Linked DNA regions of Homo sapiens: region 2 is linked to region 1. Evidence: promoter capture Hi-C in human tissues and cell types (Jung and others, 2019). All regions are on one chromosome and are shown on one strand. The core of a region is centred on a gene start or on the middle of the fragment in contact, and the rest is flanking DNA. Distances in the headings are between cores, read along the strand shown. Region 1 holds the start of DCTN2 (dynactin subunit 2). Region 2 has its middle 30 kb from the start of OS9.

The links. Contacts are between HindIII fragments. The study calls those that stand out against the background at their distance.
Region 2: a contact is called between a fragment that was not itself captured here and the fragment with the promoter of DCTN2 in region 1, in 2 of the 25 tissues and cell types used here (bladder and heart left ventricle).

What each region holds. Positions count from the first base shown.
Region 1 is chr12:57,545,507-57,551,888 of GRCh38, reverse strand. DCTN2 (dynactin subunit 2) reads left to right here and starts at 4,697. Exons shown (of 14, transcript NM_001261413.2): 1 at 4,697-4,861; 2 at 5,793-5,861. The coding sequence starts at 4,826. KIF5A (kinesin family member 5A) reads right to left here and starts at 1,845. Exons shown (of 29, transcript NM_004984.4): 1 at 1,489-1,845. The coding sequence starts at 1,617. RefSeq lists enhancers at 918-1,510, 4,429-4,568 and a silencer at 1,779-2,118. The HindIII fragment of the contact is 16,785 bases long and covers 1-6,382 here.
Region 2 is chr12:57,660,874-57,666,873 of GRCh38, reverse strand. No RefSeq gene overlaps it. Among named protein-coding and RNA genes, the nearest start is that of OS9, 30 kb to the left of the region's middle. The HindIII fragment of the contact is 6,741 bases long and covers 1-6,000 here.

The DNA.
Region 1 (6,382 bases), core at 3,448-5,947:
GAGAGAGAGAGAGAGACCAAAAGCATCCATTTGAGTTAACAGTGTGGGTAAGGGTGCAAGGTGGTGACAGACTGGGGCCCTTGGGGACTGGTAAGCAGGTCTCCCCCGAAGCATGTTTATTCAAAGTCCCATTCTCACTGACTCAGAAGGCCCAGGCTTCCTCCCCTTCTTTCCTTCATTCCTTTAACAAGCCTGTGTCCAGGTGCTCTGTGCCAAGCACTGTGGATAAAGATACATAAGAAGCACCTCTGACCTTGACTGCCCTCGTACATGCCCCTCCCTCCTCAAGCTAGTTTTTGTTTCCTGGCCCAGCACCCCTCAAGCCCTACAGGACTCGACCCCAGATCTTTTCTCCCCACACACAGCCTGAGGTCCCTACCAACCTCAGGGGGAGTGGGCAAGGCCTAGAATTTCCCTTTGGGCCATTACAGATAAAGGTGCAGAACAGAAACCTGGGTAGGCAATGTGATAGAAGAGATGGGAGGTTTGCAGTCACAGATTTAGGTTCAGATCCATGGATGAATAGCATGACCTTGAGAAAGTTATTCAAGTTCTTTGGGCCTCAATTTCTGCATCTGTAAAATGGAAATATTGATACTACTTCTGAATGTTGTTTTGGGGGTTAAATAATATACGTAGAGTAACAGGCCCACTGTTAATATTAGTTCCCTTAAGATATCCTCCTTGGGTAGGGCTGTCATGATGAGGTAGAGCTGGATGGCTACTTTCTATTGGATCCTCAAGAGAAAGGATGAATAAGCAGGTACTGACTAGGATCTCAGGGTTTGGGCATTTTTCTTTAGGGGGGTCAGTTGGGGAATCTGAAACCCTCTTCCTACTGTACCTGGGACCAAAAGGCAGACCTGACCTTAGGATTCCAGAGGCTCCCCCCAAGATTGGGTGTGGCATCAATGATTTCTTTCCCAGTAAACCCTGCATCAGACCTACTCCCCACAACACACACACAAAAATCCAGGCTATAACTACTTTAGGGAATGATGGAAGGTTTGGTCTTAGAGCCCACTTCCATCCACACTCTGCAGAGACCCTGGACTGCTCACCTCCCATCTAATCCACCCAAAAGTCTTCCGCCTTACCTTCCGGGAGGTGGGGGTAGAGATCTGAGCCAATAACAAAGGGAAGATGCGCTTTCTCTTGGGGAGCGGGTGGTGGAGAAGGGGAAAACATCAGAAAAACATGGGACTGGTTCTAACGGGTGGAGACGCTGCAGACAGCAGCAAAGGGGAGTTGGATCTCCCGAAGGTAGGAAAGCAGCCCCCTGCCACTCTGCAGAGACTCGGCCGCTGGCCTGGCCAGGCCACACCCAGCCATCCTGATGCAGGGGAGAGGAGGGGCTGCGGGGAAGAGGATGAAGGATGAGCGGCGGGGAGGGGGAGCAAAGGGACCAGCAGAGACTAAGGCTCTGCGGGGGGCGGGGAGATTCAGCCACCTGCCCCCTCCCCGAATTCCCTCCTGGGCGACACTCACCCCAATAACGACGCTGTCGTCCCCTTGGAAAATGGGGATGAACTTGTCTCCCCGCAGAATCTCAGCCTGGTTCAGGGGCCGGAATCGGCAGAGCACCTTGATGCTACATTCGTTGTTGGTCTCCGCCATGGTGGTAGCCGGCGTGGGGCTGGGACTCTTCTTGGGCTGCAGGGGTGGTGTGTGCTCCAGAGGAGAGGGCTCTCAGCAGAGGCCGAGGCGGAGGACAGGTGCTCAGTCTCTGGGGACAGAGTTGAGGGCGCCCGGGCGAAGCCTGGGGAGCAGGGCCGGGGCGCGCTGTCTCTCTCCTGCGGCAGCGGGATGCGGGCGACCTGGGCGTCTGGTCCTTTCGGGCTCTCTGCCTCTCCGCCCCTCGCGCTGCAGCGCCGCGCTGCGGGCCTGGGCGGGGCCGCGATGGAGGAGCGGGGGCGGGGCTCCCTCCACTGGGGACGCTGGCTCGACGTCGACCCCCGAAGGGTGGAACCTCACCGCTCCTCTCCTCCCTCCCCCACCCCTAACGTTCGGAGATAACCTTGCCCTCGACCCTTCCCCACCCAACTCACTGCATCCCACCCCTATACCCCCGACCTGTTTGTCCCTCCCTCAGACTCCACCCCCTGGAAGGGATAAGGGGACTGAGGTGGGCCTGTCGCCTGTGTAGCGAAAAGGGTCAACAGATCTCCCTCTCCCTTTATTCCAGGGCATCCCCCAACCCGTCACAGTCCTCTCTCCAAACTGGGATCACACTTCTCATTCTCCCCCTACGCCCATCCCATGCCCCACATGCACGGAAGCTGGACTCCCAACCCACTCAGCTTTCTGGGGGGACCCCTGCCTGTACTCCTATGAAGTTGGGTGTCGTGGGAGGTTCTGGCTACTCCCTTCCCCTTCCACATCCAAAGGTGCACTATACTGTCTCCCCAACGTACACACCAGGTCCCCAGTTTCAGGGAAGATAAACTCCCATTCTGGGTTATGGGAATTCAAAAGCAGATACAATACTTATTTTTGTGTCCTAGGCTGAGGATGGGAGGAAGATGGGTGGGAAACATCTTTGCAAGAGAAAGGGAGTCAGAAAGCAGTGAAGGAGGGGCAATGATGGGGATGGGTAAGGCCAGAGAGACTTTGAAGTCTGAGGCAAAGCCGGCATTTGGGTTTCAGGCAAATTCAGATACCTACGGGAGTGTGTGTTTTCTGTCTCAGTAACCATTGGAGGATAGAGTCCCAATACTTCAGCCCCCTTCCCTGGCCAAAAAAAAAAAGGTGTGGGGGAAGAAAAACGAAAGAAATGCCAAGCCCAGAGATTCCTTGTCCTTCCTTCCTTTGGGTCAGACTCCTGCTGCAGCCCCTGGAAAGAACCACCAAGAAGCTGGCCAAATTGATTTTTCTCCATGTCACAGGCCTCTGCTGGCCAACAGAGAGTTGGACTGCAGGAGTTGAGGTTCTAGGCAAAGAGGAAGGGCAGGGTGGATGGGAGAAGGAGGAGGAAAGGAAAGTTCTGCTCAGCAACTGTCTGGTGAGTGGTTAAGGTCACTTAAGACACTATGGGACAAAAGTAAGAGGCTGATAGCCTGGCCAGACAAGACCTAACTATTCAGAACTCAGGGGGTTTCCCACATTGGGGCTACACCTCTAACCTACCTTGAATCTTAAGGGAACTGAAAGAAAAGAGTCCAACATAAGGAATGGGACAGGAAAGCTGTAGGACTATGGAGAAAGGGATAGAGGCTTGGGGAGGAGCCAGGAGAAAGAAAGACAACGAGTTCCGAACTCAGGAACTCTCTAGTCACTTGGTTTGGCACAATTTCTAAGTGTTGCAGCATCCTGCAAGCTCAGGAAACATCCTGGGAAACATCCCATCCTTGGGTCCCCAGGGGCTCCAAGGTGGCATCTTTAGTAAAGGGGTTTCAAAATGCCAGTCCATGGAGGGTCACTGGTCAGAGACAAAAGTTCACTGAGTATGCCCTCACCTCCAAAAGAACAATGGTGAGTTTTTTTTTAATATAAAGATGGATTTGATAAGTTTCAAAGGACTATCTTTTATTCTGAGTGTGTCCTTCTTGCTTTTCTACCAAGTAATGATGGTGACAGTAAATAATAGGTTTTCTATTTGTAATATACTTACTTGATAAAATAAAAAGGCAAATCTTCAAGGTTTGTAGTTGTTTTAATTTTATTGAACGATGAAATTTAAAAGTCTGAGAACGGAAGGTAAGGTTGGTGAATAGGTACAAAAAATTAGAAAGTATAATAAGACCTACTATTTGATGGCACAATAGGGTGACTATAGTCAAGAATAACTCAACTGTACATTTTAAAATAACTTAAAGAGTAATTGGATTATTTGTAACTTAAAGGATAAATGCTTGAGAGGATGGATACCCTCTTCTCCATGATGTGCTTATTTCACATTGCATGCCTGTATCAAAATATCTCATGTGTCCCATAAATACATACACCTACTGTGTACCCACAAAATTGAAAAAATTGAAAAATAAATAAAAGTCTGAGAACTATTAACGAAGTAGTTAAGAGCCCAGAGAGTGTTCAGACAGACATGGAGACACCACTTACCTACTTATGAACTTCAGATAGAATTGCCAGATTTGAAAAACAAAAAACAAAAACAGGATGCCCAGTTAAATGTGAATTTCAGATACTTAATTTTTGGGGGGTTAGTATACCCACACACCACACACCACACACACACACCTACTTATTATCTGAAATTCAAATTATCTGAAAGCCCTTACTTGAGAAGATTGCCTAACTTTTTCATTCCTAACATACACTACGCGTTTACTAAATTTTACTTCTTGTTTTTATTTTGTTTTTATAATACACAGTATCAAGCAAACTTCTTGTTTTTGAAACCCCGGCTGTGTCACAGTATGACTACCTGTATCATTTAATCTAGTCATTTTATTCCTGGGAGCCCCAAACAGGAATTATAAATGTTCTTTCACTGACTTGCTGTAAAAGTGAGAGAAAAGGCTGTATGAAATAGCTCCCCAAGGTTCGTTATTGTCGCTCCCCGCCCAAGCTCCAGTACACCAAAACTACACATCCCACAATCCTAGGCGGCGTCCCCTGGCCATTACCTCATTCCCTGGCCTCGTTCTCCCCAATCCCGGCCTCTCCAGGGGTGTGGCAGCAGGGCTGTTCTCGCGACTTTTGCTTTACCCTTCTGCTGTGCTACTGCTGTCGCGAGACTTCCTGCTCATCTGCCGCTCCCTTTGCCGCCGCCTTAGCCCGGGACCCGAACCCAGCCTCTCCCCTACCCGAACACCGGCCCCGGCTCCACCGAGGCCCGGGTCCCCCAGCCCGTCTCGCCGCCGCCATGGCGGACCCTAAATACGCCGACCTTCCCGGCATTGTGAGTACAGGACCGGCCCCGGCTCCCCAGGACCGCGCCCCCGACCTCCCAAGGACCCCCAGCAGAAACCAGCCCGCGACCCCTCCCGCCTGCAGCCCATCCTCCGCCCAAGGGCTCCCGCCGCTCGTTCTCCGATCGGCCTCAGCACCCCCCGAACTCTTCTGACCCGACTGGGCCGGGCCGCCGGACGGCGCACCAGGCCCCCTTTCCGGCAGTCGCCGGTAGCTCGGCCCAGAAATCGACTCCGGGTACTGACCTCTTGTGCCTGAGTTTTTCCACCATCCGTGTCAACGCCTCCCATGTCCCCCCCAAATCTCTCCATAAGACCCCATCGCTACCCCAGACACACACACCAGACCACTTAACGATGGCCTTCATCCTGCCAAGGAAGAGGTTCTGCCATCTGGCAGAACCCTCTTGTGCCAGATGGGGAGCTCTATCCTTGAGGGAACCTATGCCCTCCCCCAGCCCCCACTCCCATGACAATCCTGGCGTGTACCTTCCTTTTGTGCTGCCCTGCCTGCTTCTCAAGGTGAGGGTTGGGACACAGGACCTTGAGTACTAAGGTCCTGAGTCACTCTCAATCCTTGTGCCAGGGTGGTGGTGTACGGGGCCTAATTGGAGGATAGCCTTCACCTTCTTTGGCAATAGTGATTGCCAAGGACCTGCCCGCCTCTAGATTTAGGGTAACATCGTTGCTATCACTTACACTCACCGTTTACTGTCAGGTCCCAATTGTTTCCGCTGTCATCCCTACCCCTTGAGACATGGGAACTGACATACTGTTGACTCACGGGGCAGGTGGAGGAGAAAGGACAGAACCCTGACATCACACCCCGCCTTCTCTGTTAGCTTATTCAAATGGAGTGGGGGAAGGGGTGTTGTTGGATGCTGGGTAGTGAGGTTGGGTGGTCACTGCTTCTACCTGCAGGCCAGGAATGAGCCAGATGTTTATGAAACTAGCGACCTACCTGAGGATGATCAAGCGGAGTTCGATGCGGTAAGAATGTGTGCTGCCACAGACTCCTCCGGACTCTGACCTTTCTCCCCTAGACAGGTCCTTCCCTTTCTCGGGGGAGCTACAGCAATAAGCGGGTATGCCAACCCCAGCCTGGGTGGTATATAGGTTGCAGGGCTTGCAAAGACCTTGCTGGGCTTGCAGCCACCAATGAGCAATGGCAGGAGGGAGAGTCAAGTCAGCGGAATTACAGCTAACAACATCTGTTTGCAAAGCCCTGATTCTTGGGCCTTTTAAATAAAATTGAAATATCTCAAAACAGGTTTGGAGCTAGTGACTTAGGCCCCTGGGTTCTAACCCATGGAAATGAATCATGAAGCCTGGGCACTTGTAATAAACTGCTACCAAGAACTAGACTTTGAAATATGGAGAAATACTTTTTCCATATGAATATCCAGTATCCATTGGGCAAGGAATTAAGAAAGTGATTCCAAGATTTTAGAGCAAAACAAATTTGAGGAAGAATGTAAATATTTCACATCAGCGGATGTGAGACTGTGGTT
Region 2 (6,000 bases), core at 1,791-4,290, 120 kb before region 1:
CAAAACCTTAGTCATTGATGTTACTGTCACTGTTGTAAATGTACTTATGTGGTTTTGAAACCCACTGGGAAACAGTAGAATAGTGGGTTTTGCAAGGAGAGAATAAGCACTGAGTAGAGGGTATCTCCTTATGCTGGAACATCTGTTTACAGGAGAAAAACAAAACCTGATCTGTTCTAGGATCTATGTGTTTTCTTAAAGCCTTAGTTTGATTGTGTCATATTTAGCACAAGTGACTCCATTCTAGTTTCATTTGGTTAGGGCCTAGTGCATGAGCTCTGTCCAAAATAATGGCCTTCCATAATTTTGTTTTAAAAAATTCCCCTTTTCTGGCCAGGTTCTCACTTAGGTGAGAGTGTGACCAAAACTTAGGGCCTTAGCGCCATTCTCAGTTACCATCATTTTAGGTTTCCGGTCTCAGTGTGTCATTCATAGGTTATGGTATCCTCATTGTTGCACATTTCTTTCAGCTTTTTGTTCTTGTTGTTTTTTGTTTTTCTATAGCTTTGTTCTTCTTTTTTTTACTTTTTTTTCTTTTTTTTTAGTATTTATTGATCATTCTTGGGTGTTTCTCGGAGAGGGGGATGTGGCAGGGTCATAGGATAATAGTGGAGAGAAGGTCAGCAGATAAACACGTGAACAAAGGTCTCTGGTTTTCCTAGGCAGAGGTCCCTGAGGCTTTCTGCGGTGTTTGTGTCCCTGGGTACTTGAGAATAGGGAGTGGTGATGACTCTTAATGAGCATGCTGCCTTCAAGCATCTGTTTAACAAAGCACATCTTGCACCGACCTTAATCCATTTAACCCTGAGTTGACACAGCATATGTTTCAGAGAGCACGGGGTTGGGGGTAAGGTTATAGATCAACAGAATCCCAAGGCAGAAGAATTTTTCTTAGTACAGAACAAAATGGAGTCTCCTATGTCTACTTCTTTCTACACAGACACAGTAACAATCTGATCTCTCTTTCTTTTCCCCACATTTCCCCCTTTTCTTTTCAACAAAACCACCATCATTATCATGGCCCGTTCTCGATAGTCACTGTCTCTTCGGAGCTGTTGGGTACACCTGCAGAAAGCCTGTCACTTCACACTTGGAAGATTGCACAGCAGCCAGGCAGAGGCGCTCCTCACTTCCCAGACGGGGTGGCTGGGCAGAGGCGCTCCTCACATCCCAGATGGGGCGGCAGGGCAGAGGCGCTCCTCACTTCCCAGACAATGGGTGGCCGGGCAGAGGCGCTCCTCACTTCCCAGACAGGGCGGCCGGGCAGAGGCGCTCCTCACTTCCCAGATGAGGCGGGCGGGCAGAGGTGCTCCTGACTTCCTAGACGGGGTGGTGGCCAGGCAGAGGCTCTCCTCACATCCCAGACGATGGGCAGCCGGGCAGAGGTGCTCCCCACTTCCCAGACAGGGCGGCTGGGCAGAGGCACTTCCCACTTCCCAGACGGGGTGGCCAGGCAGAGGCACTCCCCACTTCCCAGATGGGGCGGCCAGGCAGAGATGATCCTCACTTCCCAGACGGGGCAGTTGCCGGGCAGAGGCGCTCCTCACTTCCCAGATGGGGCGGCGGCCAGGCAGAGGCGCTCCCCACCTCCCAGAGGGGGTGGTGGCCGGGCAGAGGTGCTCCTCACTTCCTAGATGGGGCGGCCAGGCAGAAGTGCTCCTCACCTCCCAGACGATGGGCAGCCGGGCAGAGGCACTCCTCACTTCCCAGACAGGGCAGCTGGGCAGAGGCGCTCCTCACTTCCCAGACGAGGTGGCCGGGCAGAGGCGCTCCTCACTTCCTAGACGGGGTGGCGGCCAGGCAGAGGCGCTCCTCACATCCCAGATGATGGGCAGCCAGGCAGAGGCGCTCCCCACTTCCCAGACAGGGCGGCCAGGAAGAGGCGCTCCTCACATCCCAGACGGGGCAGCCGGGCAGAGGTGCTCCTCACATCCCAGACGATGGGTGGCCAGGCAGAGATGCTCCTCACTTCCTAGATGGGGTGGCGGCCGGGCAGAGGCTGTAATCTTAGCACTTTGGGAGGCCAAGGCAGGCAGCTGGGAGGTGGAGGTTGTAGCGAGCCAAGATCACGCCACTGCACTCCAGCCTGGGCAACATTGAGCACTGAGTGAGTGAGACTCCGTCTGCAATCCCAGCACCTCAGGAGGCCGAGGTGGGCAGATCACTCGCGGTCAGGAGCTGGAGACCAGCCCAGCCAACACAGTGAAACCCCATCTCCACCAAAAATACAAAAACCAGTCAGGCATGGCGGCATGTGCCTGCAATCCCAGGCACTCGGTAGGCCGAGACAGGAGAGTCACGGGAGCCCAATGTAGGGAGGTTGCAGTGAGCCGAGATCACGGCAGTACAGTCCAGCCTCGGCAACAGAGGGAGACCGTCGAAAGAAAGGAAGGAAGGAAGAAGGAAAGAAAGGAAGGAAGGAAGGAAGGAAGGCTCTTTCAACTTTTGTCATTCCAGTTGAAGAGAGACCATTTGGCGTTCTAGAGATGGCTACATGCAAACATTTAAAACCTTTGAGAGAATACAGTGCACCAGGGAGACTGTTACTATGAGTATGGGGAGGCCATACCCCAAGAGTTTGGTGTATGTTCCTTACCCAGGGTCCCCATAAACCAAACCACCTAAAATTAAATAGATTAATGAATGAGCTAGCTAGAGTCTACTCACTTAACTAAGTGGTCTTTGCATTAATCCCCTACAACTGAATTTTTATAATTTACATTTGATATATTTCTCCATAGGCCACAAATATCAGCAGCTGCACAGGTACTTTTCTGTTTAGCCAATTCTATTATTTAGCATAACTTTCACAAGAGAATTTAAAGTCTGTTGTGTAACAATAGCCTTTAAAGTATAATTTGCTGTAGAGCCTATTATGAGGGAGACATTTCTAATTATTGCCTCTCTTATTCTAAACCATGGAAAAAGGACCGAACAAATGATGTCCTTCTAGAAGAGTGAAGGCCTTCTGTCAATGTTCTCTTTAATCCATGATATGGGTTAAGAGGAGTTTTGACTGATTTTGAGGCAATGTATGTATCACTAAAGTTTCTCACCTACATTGGGCCTTCATCTTTTATCTATTAAAGTGTAAGTTTATTCATGTATAAGGCTGGCTGCAAAATCCTTCACAAAGAAAAGCATACCCTGTAAGAGCACATAATAGACCCCCTTTTCATTTCTATTGTTCATAGAGGCATAAACAAGAAAAAAAATTCAAATATAAGAGTCTCATGATAGTAGAAGTTTTGATCCGTGATCTTGTGGAAAAGCTGTTCACATCAAGGATGCCATCTTCTTCTGGGGAGAAACTTTCCTGATTAGTTTTACCTTAAGGGTTCCAACAGGTGTACAGTTGCAGGAGTGTGGAGGGACCCTTCTCAGTTGTGAGATTATAAACCCAAGGTTCGAGGCTCCAAAGTTTTTCTGTAGTGTGGATGGCAAAGACGGCCTTTCTCTGATGTTCTCAGAAGATCCAATCTTCAGGTTCTAGATTGTGAAGGGACTGTCCTCAGTGAACCATAAAAAGCTTTCTTTACCTGGTTAAAATACACTGTAGCATAATAATCTACTGCTATAAGATCAGCCCTCTTGCATGGAAAAGCTTTTATACACCAGAAAACATGCATTGAAAATGACAATTGAGTGAAATTCCTTTATAAATGTTTAAATGGCCCATCAGGTAGCCAAATGTACCTGAAGCTTTGATTGTCTTCCTGGGAATATGGAACCAAACATTGGTTTTAAACTATTTCCTTAATTTATAAGTCACCACATTAATATATTCAATTTGGATTATTTTATCTTTTCCATGACCAGTCATGGAATGAAAAACCTTTAATAACAAAAGCTTTAAGGATTCAGGAAGGACAAGGCAGCTGTCCTGGTTCTTAGTGAGACCATGCTTAACATATGTCCTCTGGAATACCAGTTGTTTTCCAATTTAGGTGCATAGAACTGATAACTAATGGGTTATCATAGGTAATTTGACTTAGACCATGGAGTTCATTCAAATTGTACATTTAAACAATTTTAGTGTTGGCTGATTTAGCATGATAATCTAGAGCTTGATTTTGAAAGATTTGTTAAATACCAAAGGTTTAAAACATTGGCTGTTACAAAATAGACTCTCAGATTACCATAAGTCACTCATTTAGCCAAAATGATAACTCGAAAATTTTTTAGGCCAGGCATCATGGCTCATGCCTGTAATCCCACCACCTTGGGGAGGCCCACCACTTTGGATCATTTGAGGTCAGGAGTTCAAGACCAGCCTGGCCAACATGGTGAAACTCCGCCTGTACTAAAAAGACAGAAATTAGCCATGCATGGTGGCAGGTGCCTGCAGCCTCAGCTACTCGGGAGGCTGAGGCAGGAGAATCACTTGAACCCAGGAGGCGGAGGTTGGAGTGAGCCAGGACCACACCACTGCACTCCAGTGAGACTCTGTCTCAAAAAAAAAAATTTTTTAAGGAAAAAACATTATTCTGATAAAGAGGAGACTCAGCTTTCAAAACAAGACCCAGTGAAGACGAAGATAGCATGAGGACAACTGATTCTGTCTCCTTTCTTTCCTTTCCCCCACTTTTTCCTTTTATAGTTTACTTAAAAGGTAAACAAAAACCTTTCATTATCTTTTAATATTACATAAAAATCCTTTTTAAAATAGAAAACCAAATTTTTTGTTTCCATTCATGTTATTTTTAATGTTAAAGCTAGTTTTTAAAAACATTTTATAAATCTATTCAGTTTTAATTAGTTTGACTATAAGGTAAGATTTATATAAACATTTTATAACACTTTACAGTATTTTTTTCTCAGAGCAGAACAATGTTCTAATGAAACTCTGTTGCGCTTCTATTCCAATGTCCAATTTATGGGGAAAAAAACTAAATAATGCCATTTTAACTTTAGCCAATATGTTCACACATAGAATCTGTTAATTTTTATAAACCTTTTACAACTTGTTCAAACCTTTAGCTTTATTTAATTTAAACAATCCTTTAACCCTCTAACCTAGGCAAAACTTTACATTCCCATACTTTCTTATAATCTCGTACAAAAACACATTTTATTCTCCCTACACATCTTGTATGTAAACTTATTTTTTCAGTAGTCTCAATTACATATTACGATGTTAACTCCTAGTAATTTTACTTTTGGTGAAAACCTTGGTAAGTAAGGGATTTTAATTATGTACTAGGTGTGGAGCCTAGGACCCAGACAGAAATGCAGATAAGGTCTGACTCTTTCCAGCATTTAACTCCATGTGTCCCGGGCCTCACCTAGCTGTAAAGCAGGCAAGCTGTACAGTTAAGAGTCATAGCGGCGTTTCATGAAGCATTTAGGAGGCCAAACCACCTTTAAATTGTACAACATTTTTGGCATAAATTTCTGTTCATAAATTCTTTCACAACTTACACAGACCATGTACAACATGTTTAGACTTTATGACTTGCACTAAACATCCCTCTTTTAAACAACCAGTCATTTTACTTTAGGACAAGAATTTACCATACAACATCCTTTCTTATATAAAATCTCCTTTCTTTATGACCTTCCTTGCATAGCTAGGGGGCATGGCTAATTCCATGTATCCCCATGCCTTATTTAGAATTTAATGTCTTCAAAATATATTGAACAATTTTCAAAAGTCAAAGCAGTTTATGACCTTAAAGCCTTTAGCAAACCTAATATCTGACCTGCATGATTTAGACAAAATGTTTTTATTTTATCAATAATCTTTAAAGCTATTTTTATTTGCCAAAGATTACTAAAGTTACATGAACTAAAAGGCATTACAGTTTTTATTTTGCTTTTAAGAGCTTATTTTTGTTTAAACCAATTAATAGAGCTCTTTTATATAAGCGTTACACACAACCCATATATAGTTACACAGAAAGACAGACAGAAGATTACTACAGTAGTTGTAAGATTTTTCATTTGCCAGTTTTTAAGTTTCTCAATTGGTTATTGGCTTTAGGGTGGAGCCCTTGGAAA